Linked DNA regions of Homo sapiens: all the other regions are linked to region 1. Evidence: promoter capture Hi-C in 16 types of primary human blood cells and fetal thymus (Javierre and others, 2016). All regions are on one chromosome and are shown on one strand. Each heading gives the region's core, a stretch centred on a gene start or on the middle of the fragment in contact. The rest is flanking DNA. Distances are from core to core; before and after follow the strand shown. Region 1 holds the start of INE1 (inactivation escape 1). Region 2 overlaps ZNF41 (zinc finger protein 41). Region 3 overlaps ZNF157 (zinc finger protein 157).

The links. The method cuts DNA at HindIII sites, captures the fragments that hold promoters and counts their contacts. A CHiCAGO score of 5 or more calls a contact.
Region 2: a contact is called between a fragment that was not itself captured here and the fragment with the promoter of INE1 in region 1, in 2 of 17 cell types (naive CD8 T cells and naive CD4 T cells). The highest score is 5.2, in naive CD8 T cells.
Region 3: a contact is called between a fragment that was not itself captured here and the fragment with the promoter of INE1 in region 1, in 2 of 17 cell types (non-activated CD4 T cells and total B cells). The highest score is 5.6, in non-activated CD4 T cells.

What each region holds. Positions count from the first base shown.
Region 1 is chrX:47,202,835-47,206,097 of GRCh38, forward strand. It overlaps INE1 (inactivation escape 1), which reads left to right and starts at 2,014. Exons shown (of 1, transcript NR_024616.1): 1 at 2,014-3,027. UBA1 (ubiquitin like modifier activating enzyme 1) reads left to right here. Exons shown (of 26, transcript NM_003334.4): 12 at 109-213; 13 at 300-380; 14 at 707-862; 15 at 3,114-3,263. LOC105373194 (a long non-coding RNA gene) reads right to left here. Exons shown (of 3, transcript XR_949047.4): 3 at 1,434-2,516. The HindIII fragment of the contact is 2,713 bases long and covers 1,958-3,263 here.
Region 2 is chrX:47,457,609-47,461,139 of GRCh38, forward strand. The region is part of intron 2 of ZNF41 (zinc finger protein 41); the gene reads right to left. Among named protein-coding and RNA genes, the nearest start is that of LINC01560, 23 kb to the right of the region's middle. The HindIII fragment of the contact is 2,337 bases long and covers 481-2,817 here.
Region 3 is chrX:47,407,744-47,411,274 of GRCh38, forward strand. ZNF157 (zinc finger protein 157) reads left to right here. Exons shown (of 4, transcript NM_003446.4): 2 at 2,533-2,659; 3 at 2,937-3,032. Among named protein-coding and RNA genes, the nearest start is that of SNORA11C, 21 kb to the left of the region's middle. The HindIII fragment of the contact is 6,293 bases long and covers 1-3,531 here.

The DNA.
Region 1 (3,263 bases), core at 764-3,263:
GCAGGATTGGGGTGGGCCAGGTTCCTCCATGACTCTGTCACTTGCTCTCTGTCTGTGTCAGGCCCCTGTTAACCACTGACCACCCCCTCTCTCCCTTCCCCTCTCCAGGCCTGCTCCGGGAAGTTCATGCCCATCATGCAGTGGCTATACTTTGATGCCCTTGAGTGTCTCCCTGAGGACAAAGAGGTCCTCACAGAGGACAAGTGCCTCCAGGTATGTGGGTGGGACCTGTGGGGAGGGCATCATTGGGGACATTTCTGGGGAGGCCTCTCTAACCCTCCTCCCTTTGCATTCCTTAGCGCCAGAACCGTTATGACGGGCAAGTGGCTGTGTTTGGCTCAGACCTGCAAGAGAAGCTGGGCAAGCAGAAGTATTTCCTGGTAAGTGGTCCCCTTGGATGTCTGCTCCCCTCATCTTGGCCTCTGGCCATCACCCCTGGGGCTTCCTTCGGCATCTCAATGCAACCGGTGGCGCATTCTCTTTGCCATTCTCCTTATCTTGAAGGGAAGCCCAGTGCATCCCTCGTTTCCCCTTCTGGTGCCTCCTTCCTCACATGACTGCGTGTCATTTCTTAGAGTCCTGCAACCTGAAGATGTGGTGTTAGCCCCTCTCCCCGTCTCTCAGGGGAGTGAGGGGTGATGGGTAGCTTCACACTAACCTGCATCACCCTGACCAGCCTCTGCCTGTCTTCTTGGTTGCTTCTTAGGTGGGTGCGGGGGCCATTGGCTGTGAGCTGCTCAAGAACTTTGCCATGATTGGGCTGGGCTGCGGGGAGGGTGGAGAAATCATCGTTACAGACATGGACACCATTGAGAAGTCAAATCTGAATCGACAGTTTCTTTTCCGGCCCTGGGATGTCACGGTGAGTAGGGTAGGAGGTTGGGGCTTTGTCGTCTCACTTTCCTCCTTTTTCTTTTTTTTTTTTTTTTTGAGACGGAGTTTCGCTCTTGTTGCCCAGGCTGTAGTGCAGTGGCGTGATCTCTGGCCCACCACAACCTCTGCCTCCTGGGTTCAAGCGATTCTCCTGCCTCAGCCTCCTGAGTAGCTGGGACTACAGGCATGCGCCACCACGCCCGGCTGATTTTGCATTTTAAGTAGAGACAGGGTTTCTCCATGTTGGTCAGGCTGGTCTCGAATTCCCGACCTCAGGTGATCTGCCTGCTTCAGCCTCCCAAAGTGTTGGTATTACAGGCGTGAGCCACCACACCTCACCCCTCCTTTTTCTTGTTCCCATTCTTTCTGTCAGAGATCTTTCTGCCTCTGCCAGAAGCCCTTCTTTTTGGCCTTTCTTTCCCTCAGCTTCTGTTTTTTTTTTTTTTTTTTTTTTTTTTTTGCCTTAACCTCTTTTTAGTGCTGGTTGGGACAGTGTGTCTGGGGTCCTCAAAACTACTCTCAAGCTCAATTCACCTAGAGTACTTACAGGACTCAGCATATAGTCGTGCTTGTGGCTACAATTTATTACAGCAAAAGGATACAGACCAAAATCAGCAAAGGGAAAAGGCTGGTGCAAGTTTCTAGGAGTCTTCTCCCAGCGGGAGTTAAACAAGGCGGCCTTTATTTCCCCAGTAGCAACAGTAACTACAGAAATAACAGCAACAAGGTGTAACAAGACATGAAATGTTGCCAACCAGGGAAGCTTGTTAGACTCAGCACCACCTCTTTTACTTGGGGCTGGTCATGTAGGCGCCCCCTTCCTGGCACATAACAAAATTTCCAGACTCCCAGAAGGAAAGGTGTTCAGCGTAAACTGTATTGTTTGCATGAACGGTTTAGGCACAGTGAACCACTGATACCAGGTAGGGAGCGGTGGGAACCTTCCTGAATTCCAAGTTCCCAGACACCAGCCAAGGAGCCGACCTTGGAAGCAGGCCTTTCCAAGGGTTGTAGTTTCAGTCTCCTAGGCTTACACTTCTCTGCACATATGGAAACTGGGTTGGTTATGCAGGGTTCTCTGAGAAGCTTTCTGTAAGGAGCAGTGTCGTTTTTGCTTACCCAGGATTTATTCCCCCTTTCATTTATTTCATTTATTCACCAGATAGTTTTAGTACTGTTTTAGGTATTGGGGATATACCAAGGAATAAAACAAGATTCCTGGAGGGAGAGGGGAACGGACAGCAAACAATAGACACAATACGATCGTGAGGTATATAGTTAATGTTGGTGATGAGTGCTCCTCAAAGGAAACAACTAAAACCAGACAAGGGAAGTCGGGGTGTCAGGGAGAATGGTTTGTAGTATTGATGACAATGGTTAAGGAAGGCCTGAGTTCTGCAAAGACCTCAAGGATATGAGGGACTAGAGTGCCCTCTGCTGTGGAAGAGCCTGCGCAAAGATCCTGAGGTGGGAGGGGTCAGGGAGCCAACTCATTTTACGGTAAGTGGAGGTGGGATCCAGGGGAGGATTCTGAGCAGAGGAGGGACGTGGCCCAATTTGGGCTTTGAAAGGATCCTGCTTGTCTGTGTGCCAGCATCCTGGTGGTGGTTGGGGGAGTCTGCATCAATCCTGGGTGCTGTTACCTGAAAAAATAGCAGGTGTTAGACGAAAGAACAGATGTCTGGCCCATTGTCTCCAGTCTGTTCCTGTCCACAGCTTCCCTTTATGCTGAGCCCCTGCCACATGCATCATCATCCTGGCCATGTGGCATTGTCACAGACCGTCTCTCCTGCTAGCCTCCTAACTCAGGGCCTGGGTCTTCCCCAGCATTAAGTAAATCAGTCTCAGGCAGACAGCCCTTTATAGGTGTTTGGGCCAGGTGCGGTGGCTCACGCCTGTAATCCCAGCTCTTTGTGGGGCCGAGGTCTTTGAGCTCAGGAGTTCAAGACCAGCCTGGGCAGCATGACAAAACCCTGTCTCTACCAAAAATACAAAAATTAGCCACGCATGGTGGCACACACCTGTGGTCCCAGCTACTCGGGAGGCTGAGGTGGGAGGATCGCTGGAGCCTGGGAAGTTGAGGCTGCAGTGAGCCGTGATCATGCCACTGCATTCCAGCCTGTGTGATGGAGAGAGACCCTGTCTCAAAAAAAATAAAGATGTTTGTTGGGTGAATGCACAAATAAGTGAGCTTTGTTCCCCCATCCCCACCCTGGAACTGCACTTTCTTAACCCTTTAGAAGTTAAAGTCTGACACGGCTGCTGCAGCTGTGCGCCAAATGAATCCACATATCCGGGTGACAAGCCACCAGAACCGTGTGGGTCCTGACACGGAGCGCATCTATGATGACGATTTTTTCCAAAACCTAGATGGCGTGGCCAATGCCCTG
Region 2 (3,531 bases), core at 399-2,898, 250 kb after region 1:
CAGGCGGATCACCTGAGGTCAGGAGTTCGAGACCAGCCTGGCCAACATGGCAAAAACCCCGTCTCTACCAAAAATACAAAAATTAGCCGGGCACGGCGGGTGTCTGTAATCCCAGCTACTCGGGAAGCTGAGGCAGGAGAATTGCTTGAACTCAGGAGGCGGAGGTTGCAGTGAGCTGAGATCACGCCACTGCACTCCAGCCTGGGCGACAGAACGAGACTCCATCTCAAAAACAAACAAACAAACAAACAAAAAGAAGGTGTTCATGCTGTGTTTTAAAGAGCCTGAATTATGGGAGTGAGAAAAAGAATTCTAGGGCAATTCTCAGTTATCGGTTTTGTACAACCATGCAGACAGTGGTGTTATATACTGAGAGGGGCTAGTAGATTAGGAAGGGAGTGGGGAAGAGAATGAAACATAATGTTACATTTTGTCCATGTTGAAATAAAGGTGGTAAAACATGCAGGGAGTTATACAATAAGCTTTTGGGCTATTATAGAGGTAAGATTTGGGAGTTCTCATATAGAGCTGGGAAACAGATGAGACGAACCAGGAAGGGCACACAGATAGAGACGATACAGAAACCATCTCTTACAGACCATCTCTAAACCAAGTGTATTTAAGTCAGAAATCAGTAATAAGACGAAACTTTTCTGAAATCATCATTTTAAAGTTTAAAAATACAGTTCAAAATAACTGATCGTCTAAGAAGATACACTCAATATCAATGTAATCAGTACATGTAAGAATTTATTGGATTAAGAAATGGTAACTAAAGTGGAAATTAGGGTCTCCAGTGCTCATATTACAAAAGAATAAAGTCCAAAATTCCATGCATTAAGCATTGAAATAAAGACATTATAAAAATAACAATAGAGTAAAGCCCAAGAGAAAAAATCTTTAAAAAGCAGAAATCAATACATTCAATGCCATCCCAATTGAAATCACAACAGGATTTTTGTAAAATCTGACAAACCAATTCTAAAATTTCTGTGGAAGTGCAAATGGCCAGGAATAGCTAAGGCGTTTAAAAAAAATTATTTTGTATCTTGTTTTCAGAGACATGGTCTCACTTTGTCACCCAGGCTAGGGTGCAGTGGCGCAACCACAGCCCACTGCAGCCTCAACCACAGGCATACGTCACCATATGCTGCTTCGTTTTTTTTTTGTTTTGTTTTTTTTTTTTGTATTTTGTAGAGACAGGGGTCTCCCTATGTTGCCTAGGCTGGTCTAGAACTCCTGGCCTCAAGTGATCCACCTGCCTCAGCCTCCTAAAGCACTGGGATTGTAGGCGTGAGCCACTGTGCCCGGCCTGCCAAGACACTCTTGAATAGTTAAAGCAATGTGGGAGGACATGCTTTACAAGACCTCAAGACTTACAAAGCAATGGAAATTTAAGACATTGTTGTCCTGGTGCTAGGATAGACAAATAATCCATTGCAACAGAATATAGAGTACAGGCCGGGTGCAGTGGATCAGGCCTGTAATCCCAGCACTTTGGGAGGCTGAGGCAGGTGGATCACTTGAGGTCAGGAGTTTGTGACCAGCCTGGCCAACATGGAGAAATCTCGTCTCTTCTAGAAATACAGAAATTACATGGGCATGGTGGCACGTGACTGTAGTCTCAGTTACTTGGGAGGCTGAAGCAGGAGGATCACTAGAACCTGGAAGGCGGAGGTTGCAGTGAGCCAAGACCGGGCCACTGCACTCCAGCTTGGACAACAGAGTGAGACTCAGTCTCAAAAAAAGAAAAAAGAGTACAGAAACAGACCCACATATACAGTCACCTGATTTATGCCAAAGGTGTCCAGGCAGATAGTGAGGAAAAATATTTTCAACAAATGTTGCCAGGGCCTGGGCGTGGAGGCTCACACCTGTAACCCCAGCACTTTGGGAGGCTGAGGCAGGTGGATCACTTGAGCTCAGGAGTTTGAGACCAGCCTGGACAACATGGCAAAACCCCATCTCTACAAAAAACACAAAAAATTAGCCAGGCATGGTTGCGTGTGCCTGTAGTCCCAGCTACTCAGGAGGCTGAGGTGGGAGAATCACCTGAACCTGGGAAGCTGAGGCTGCAGTGAACCATGACTGTGCCACTGCACTCCAGCCTGGGTGACGGAGCAAGACCCTATCTAAAAAAAAAAAAAAAAAAAAAAAAAGAAAGAAAGAAAAGAAGACAAGGTTGTGTATAGAAAAAATAAAGTAAAATCTGAGCTCTATTTCACATTACATGCCAAAACAATAACATTGTTTGAACCTGGGAGGCGGAGGTTGCAGTAAGCTGAGATCACGCCATTGCACTCCAGCCTGGGTGACAAAAGCGAGACTCCATCTCAAAAAAAAAAAAATCAATTCCAAGGCCAGGTGCAGTGGCTCATGCCTGTAATCCCAGCACTTTGGGAGGCCAAGGCAGGAGGATTGCTTGAGTCCAGGTTTAAAACCAGCCTGGGCAATATGGCGAGACTCGGTCTCTACAAAAAAATAAAATATATAGCACACATATAAAAATTAGCTGAGTGGGGTGGCAAGCACCTGCAGTCTCAGATACTCAGGAGGCTAGGCTGGAAGATCTCTTGAGCCTGGAAGGTGGAGGCTGCAGTGAACCATGTTTGTGTCACTGTACTCCAGTCTGGGTGACAGAGTGAGATCCCATTTCAAAAGTATATATAAATTCCAGATGTATTATAGACTTAAATGTGAAAGGCAAAAACTATAAAGCCTTTAGAAGATAATACAGATGGCTATCTTCATGACCTTGAATTAGGAAAATAGTTCTCAAACATGAACCATGAAAATTGATAAGTCTTTCTACAACAAAGCTTAGAACTACTATTCATTTAAAACACAGCATTAAAAGAGAACAAAGGGAAAGTCACAGAGTAGAAGATATCTCCAACATACATTATCAACAAAGGGCTCAGCTAGAAGATGTAGAGAACTTGTACAAACCAATAAGAAAAAAAGAGACCACCTAGTAGAAAAATGGGTGAAGCATTCATTTTACAAAAGAGGAAATCCAAGGCTTTAATAAACATAAAAAAAGGTTTAACCTTCTTAGTAGCCAGGGAATACAAATTAAAACCACAAAGGATAGCATTACACAACCCCTAGAAAGTCTTAAATGAAAAAGACTGATAATACCAAGTGTTGAAGAGAATATGGTGCAAGAACTCTCATACTGCTGATGGAGGAGGTGGGAATTGCTACAACTGTGCTGGAAAGTATTTTGGCCCTAACTGGTAATGTTGAAGACATGCAGGCAATATGACACAGTGAGTCCACTCATGGAAATATATATGCCCACGTGGAATATGTGCACATGTACAACAGGAGATGCATTCAAGAATATTTATAGTGGCGTTATTCAAAATATGTATAATATTTCATGATAAAAAGGTTTAAAAACAGTGATTTTAAAAAATCAGTATTCAATATATGTACAGTATCAACTGTCTTCGTAAAAAAAATTAAGGATATTTTCTTTTCTTTTCTTTTTTTTTTTTTTTGAGACAGGATCTTAACTCTGTCGCC
Region 3 (3,531 bases), core at 440-2,939, 200 kb after region 1:
CGGGTTCAAGCAATTCTCCTGCCTCAGCCTCCCAAGTGGCTGGGATTACAGGCCTGCACCACCATACCCAGCTCATTTCTTACCTATCACTTTAAACTGGAAATGGCACTGTTACTTGAAAGTGTCTCCCCTCCTACCTTCCAACACCCCACACTTTCCTGGTTCTATTTCTACCATCTAATAATTGTATTAGTCTGTTCTTGCATTGCTATAAAGAAATACCTGAGACTGGGTAACTTATAAAGAAAAGAGATTTAATTGGCTCATGGTTCTGCAGGCTGTACAAAAAGCATAACGGCTTCTGGGGAGGCCTCAGGAAACTTCCAATCCATGGCAGAAGGCAAAGAGGAAGAAGGAAGAAATTTTTTTTTTTTTTTAGACGGAGTTTCACTCTTGTCACCCAGGCTAGAGTGCAAGGGCACGATCTCGGCTCATTGCAACCTCCGCCTCCTGGGTTCAAGTGATTCCTGATTCTCCTGCCTCAGCCTCCTGAGTAGCTGGGATTACAGGTGTGCACCACCATGCCCCGCTAATTTTTGTATTTTAGTAGAAATGGGGTTTCACCATGTTGGCCAGGCTGGTCTCAAACTCCTGACCTCAGGTGATCCACCTACCTCAGTCTCCCAAAGTGCTGGGATTACAGGCGTGAGCCACCGTGCCCGGAGGCATATCTTTGTGTGTGTGTGTGTAAGATAGGATCTCGCTCTGTCACACAGGCTGGAGTGCAGTGGTGTGATCTTGGCTCACTGCAGTCTCAACCTCCTGGGCTCAAGTGATCCTCCTGCCTCAGCCCCTCAAGTAGCTGGGATTATAGACATGCACCACCATGCCCAGCTAATTTTTGTTTGTTTGTTTGTAGAGACAGGATTTCACCATGTTGCCCAGTCTGCTCAAATTCCTGGGCTCAAGCTGTCCACCTGCTTCAGCTTCCCAAAGTGCTGGGATTACAGGCATGAGCCACTGCGCCCGGACAGCAGGCACATCTTACATGGCCAGAGCAGGAGGAATTGGGGCACAGGTGCCACACACTCTTAAACAACCAGATCTCATGAGAACTCACTATGGCGATGACAGCACCAAGGGAGGATGGTGTTAAATCATGAGAAACCACCCCCATGATCCAATCCCCTCCCACCAGGCCCCACCTCCAACACTGGGGATTACAATTCAACATGAGATTTGGGTGGAGACACAGATCCAAACCATATCAGGAATTTACTCTGCAACCTTCATAGCATATTGGTGTTCCCTCAAACTCTGTACTTGGTGCTTCTCTCAAACTGTGCTCCTTCTTAGCTATCCAATTTATTCTGGTGGTTTCAGCTAGTACTGGAATGATCTTACCCCCCAAACCTTGGCCTCTGCTAGCCTTCTCTCTTGAGCTCCAGCTGGACATCTCTGTCAGTATGTTCCATAAACACTCCAAAGTCTATCTCAGTTTTTCTTCCATGAACTCATTGTCTCTCCTGTTTTGCTAATGTCTATACATGGCTCCAGCCTCATCCCAGCTGTTCATGCAGTTATCCTGGGAGCAATACTGTCTCCCTTTCTCCCACAGAACAGCACTTCTGTATCATTTATAAGTATAAATATATTTTGTTTCTTTGTTTTGAGACAGGGTCTCTCTGTCGCCCAGGCTGGAGTGCAGTGACGCAATCTCAGCTCACTGCAACCTCCACCTCCCGGGTTCAAGTGATTCTCCTGCCTCAGGCTCCCAAGTAGCTGGGATGGCAGGCACCTGCCACCATGCCCGGCTAATTTTTTTTTTTTTGTATTTTTAGTAGAGATAGGGTTTCACCATGTTGGCCAGGCTGGTCTCGAACTCCTGACCTCAAGTGATCCGCCTGCCTCGGCCTCCCAAAGTGCTACGATCATAGGCATGAGCCACCATGCCCAGCCAGCTTCTTTTTTTTTTTTTGAGACGGAGTCTTGCTCTGTTGCCCGAGCTGGAGTGCAGTGGTGTGATCTTGGCTCACTGCAACCTCCGCCTCCTGGGTTCAAGTGATTCTCCTGCCTCCGCCTCCTGAGTAGCTGGGACTACAGATGTGCACCACCACACCCAGCTAATTTTTGTATTTTTAGTAGAGATGGGGTTCACCCCATCTCTGTTGGCCAGTCTGGTCTTGAACTCCTGATCTCAGGCAATCCACCCAGCTTGGCCTCCCAAAGTGCTGGGATTACAGGCGTGAGCCACCGCGCCCAGCCTCCTTCTTCATTTTTTAACCCAGCAACTTGCACACGTCCAGGCACATAGTGTTTGTTTTTTCATTGGTTTTCCAGAAATATGCTTACTGAGGCACATAGTGTTAACTCAGGAGTGCAGTGATCTTTTTTTCATGCATTAATAAATTAACACAGTAACAGAGCTGTTCCAGGTACCCCCCACCCCAAAAGTATATCAAGCGAGACACAAAATCAGGTATCCAGTGTAGCTCTATTTAGTCAACTTTCAACAGGGCTCCATTGAGAAGATTAGTTCCTGCACATCTTTTTCATGCATCCCATTCTGATCATTGGAGATTGTTATTACAGGGGTCCGTGTCATTCGAGGATGTGGCTGTGGATTTCACCCGACAGGAGTGGCACAGACTGGACCCTGCTCAGAGGACCATGCACAAGGATGTGATGCTGGAGACCTACAGCAACCTGGCATCTGTGGGTGAGGATGATTGTCCGTGTAACTCCTGAGAGCGTGTGTTTCCTTTCTTGGTTGCTGTAACATGTGCAGCCTTGCGAGGGTTTAATGATATTAAGAGTCACAGATGAGTAATCAGTTTAGGGCACCAGAAAAAATGTGTGCGTTCTTACTTCCCCAATGAAAGGTTTAAATGGGCCCCCTTCCTTGTGCAGCTCATGAAGATGCACCTTCCTCCTCCATCAGAGGCCCTAGAGCTCAGACAACTTGGCCCACGTCCTGTGCCATTTCCCATTAACAGGCCTCTGCGTGGCCAAACCAGAGATGATCTTCAAGTTGGAGCGAGGAGAAGAGCTGTGGATATTAGAGGAGGAATCCTCAGGCCATGGTTACTCAGGTAAGTACTGGGCAAGAACTGGACATATGGAAAATAGGGGAAATAAGAGCCCAGGAATTCAGGTCAAAGGGTATGCTTGTGCAACACTTTCTAGGAATCTCTTTTTAGAGTTCCTAGCTCTTTGAAAATAAGGACGGAAGGTCTACATGCTTCAGATACCAAAGTCACACATCTTAATATCACACTCAAACTTCAGTGCTTTCTCCGGTTTTATCTTGATTTTTTTTTTTTTTGATGGAGTCTCACTCTGTCATCCAGGCTGGAGTGCAGTGGTGCGATCTCAGCTCACCACAACCTCCACCTCCCGGGCTCAAGCGATTCTCCTGCCTCAGCATCCTGAGCAGCTGGGATTACAGGTGCGTGCCACCACGCCTGGCTAATTTTTGTACTTTTAGTAGAGACAGGGTTTCACCATGTTGGCCAGGTTGGTCACGAACTCCTGACCTCAAGTGATCTGCCTGCCTTGGCCTCTCAAAGTGCTGGGATTACAGGTGTGAGC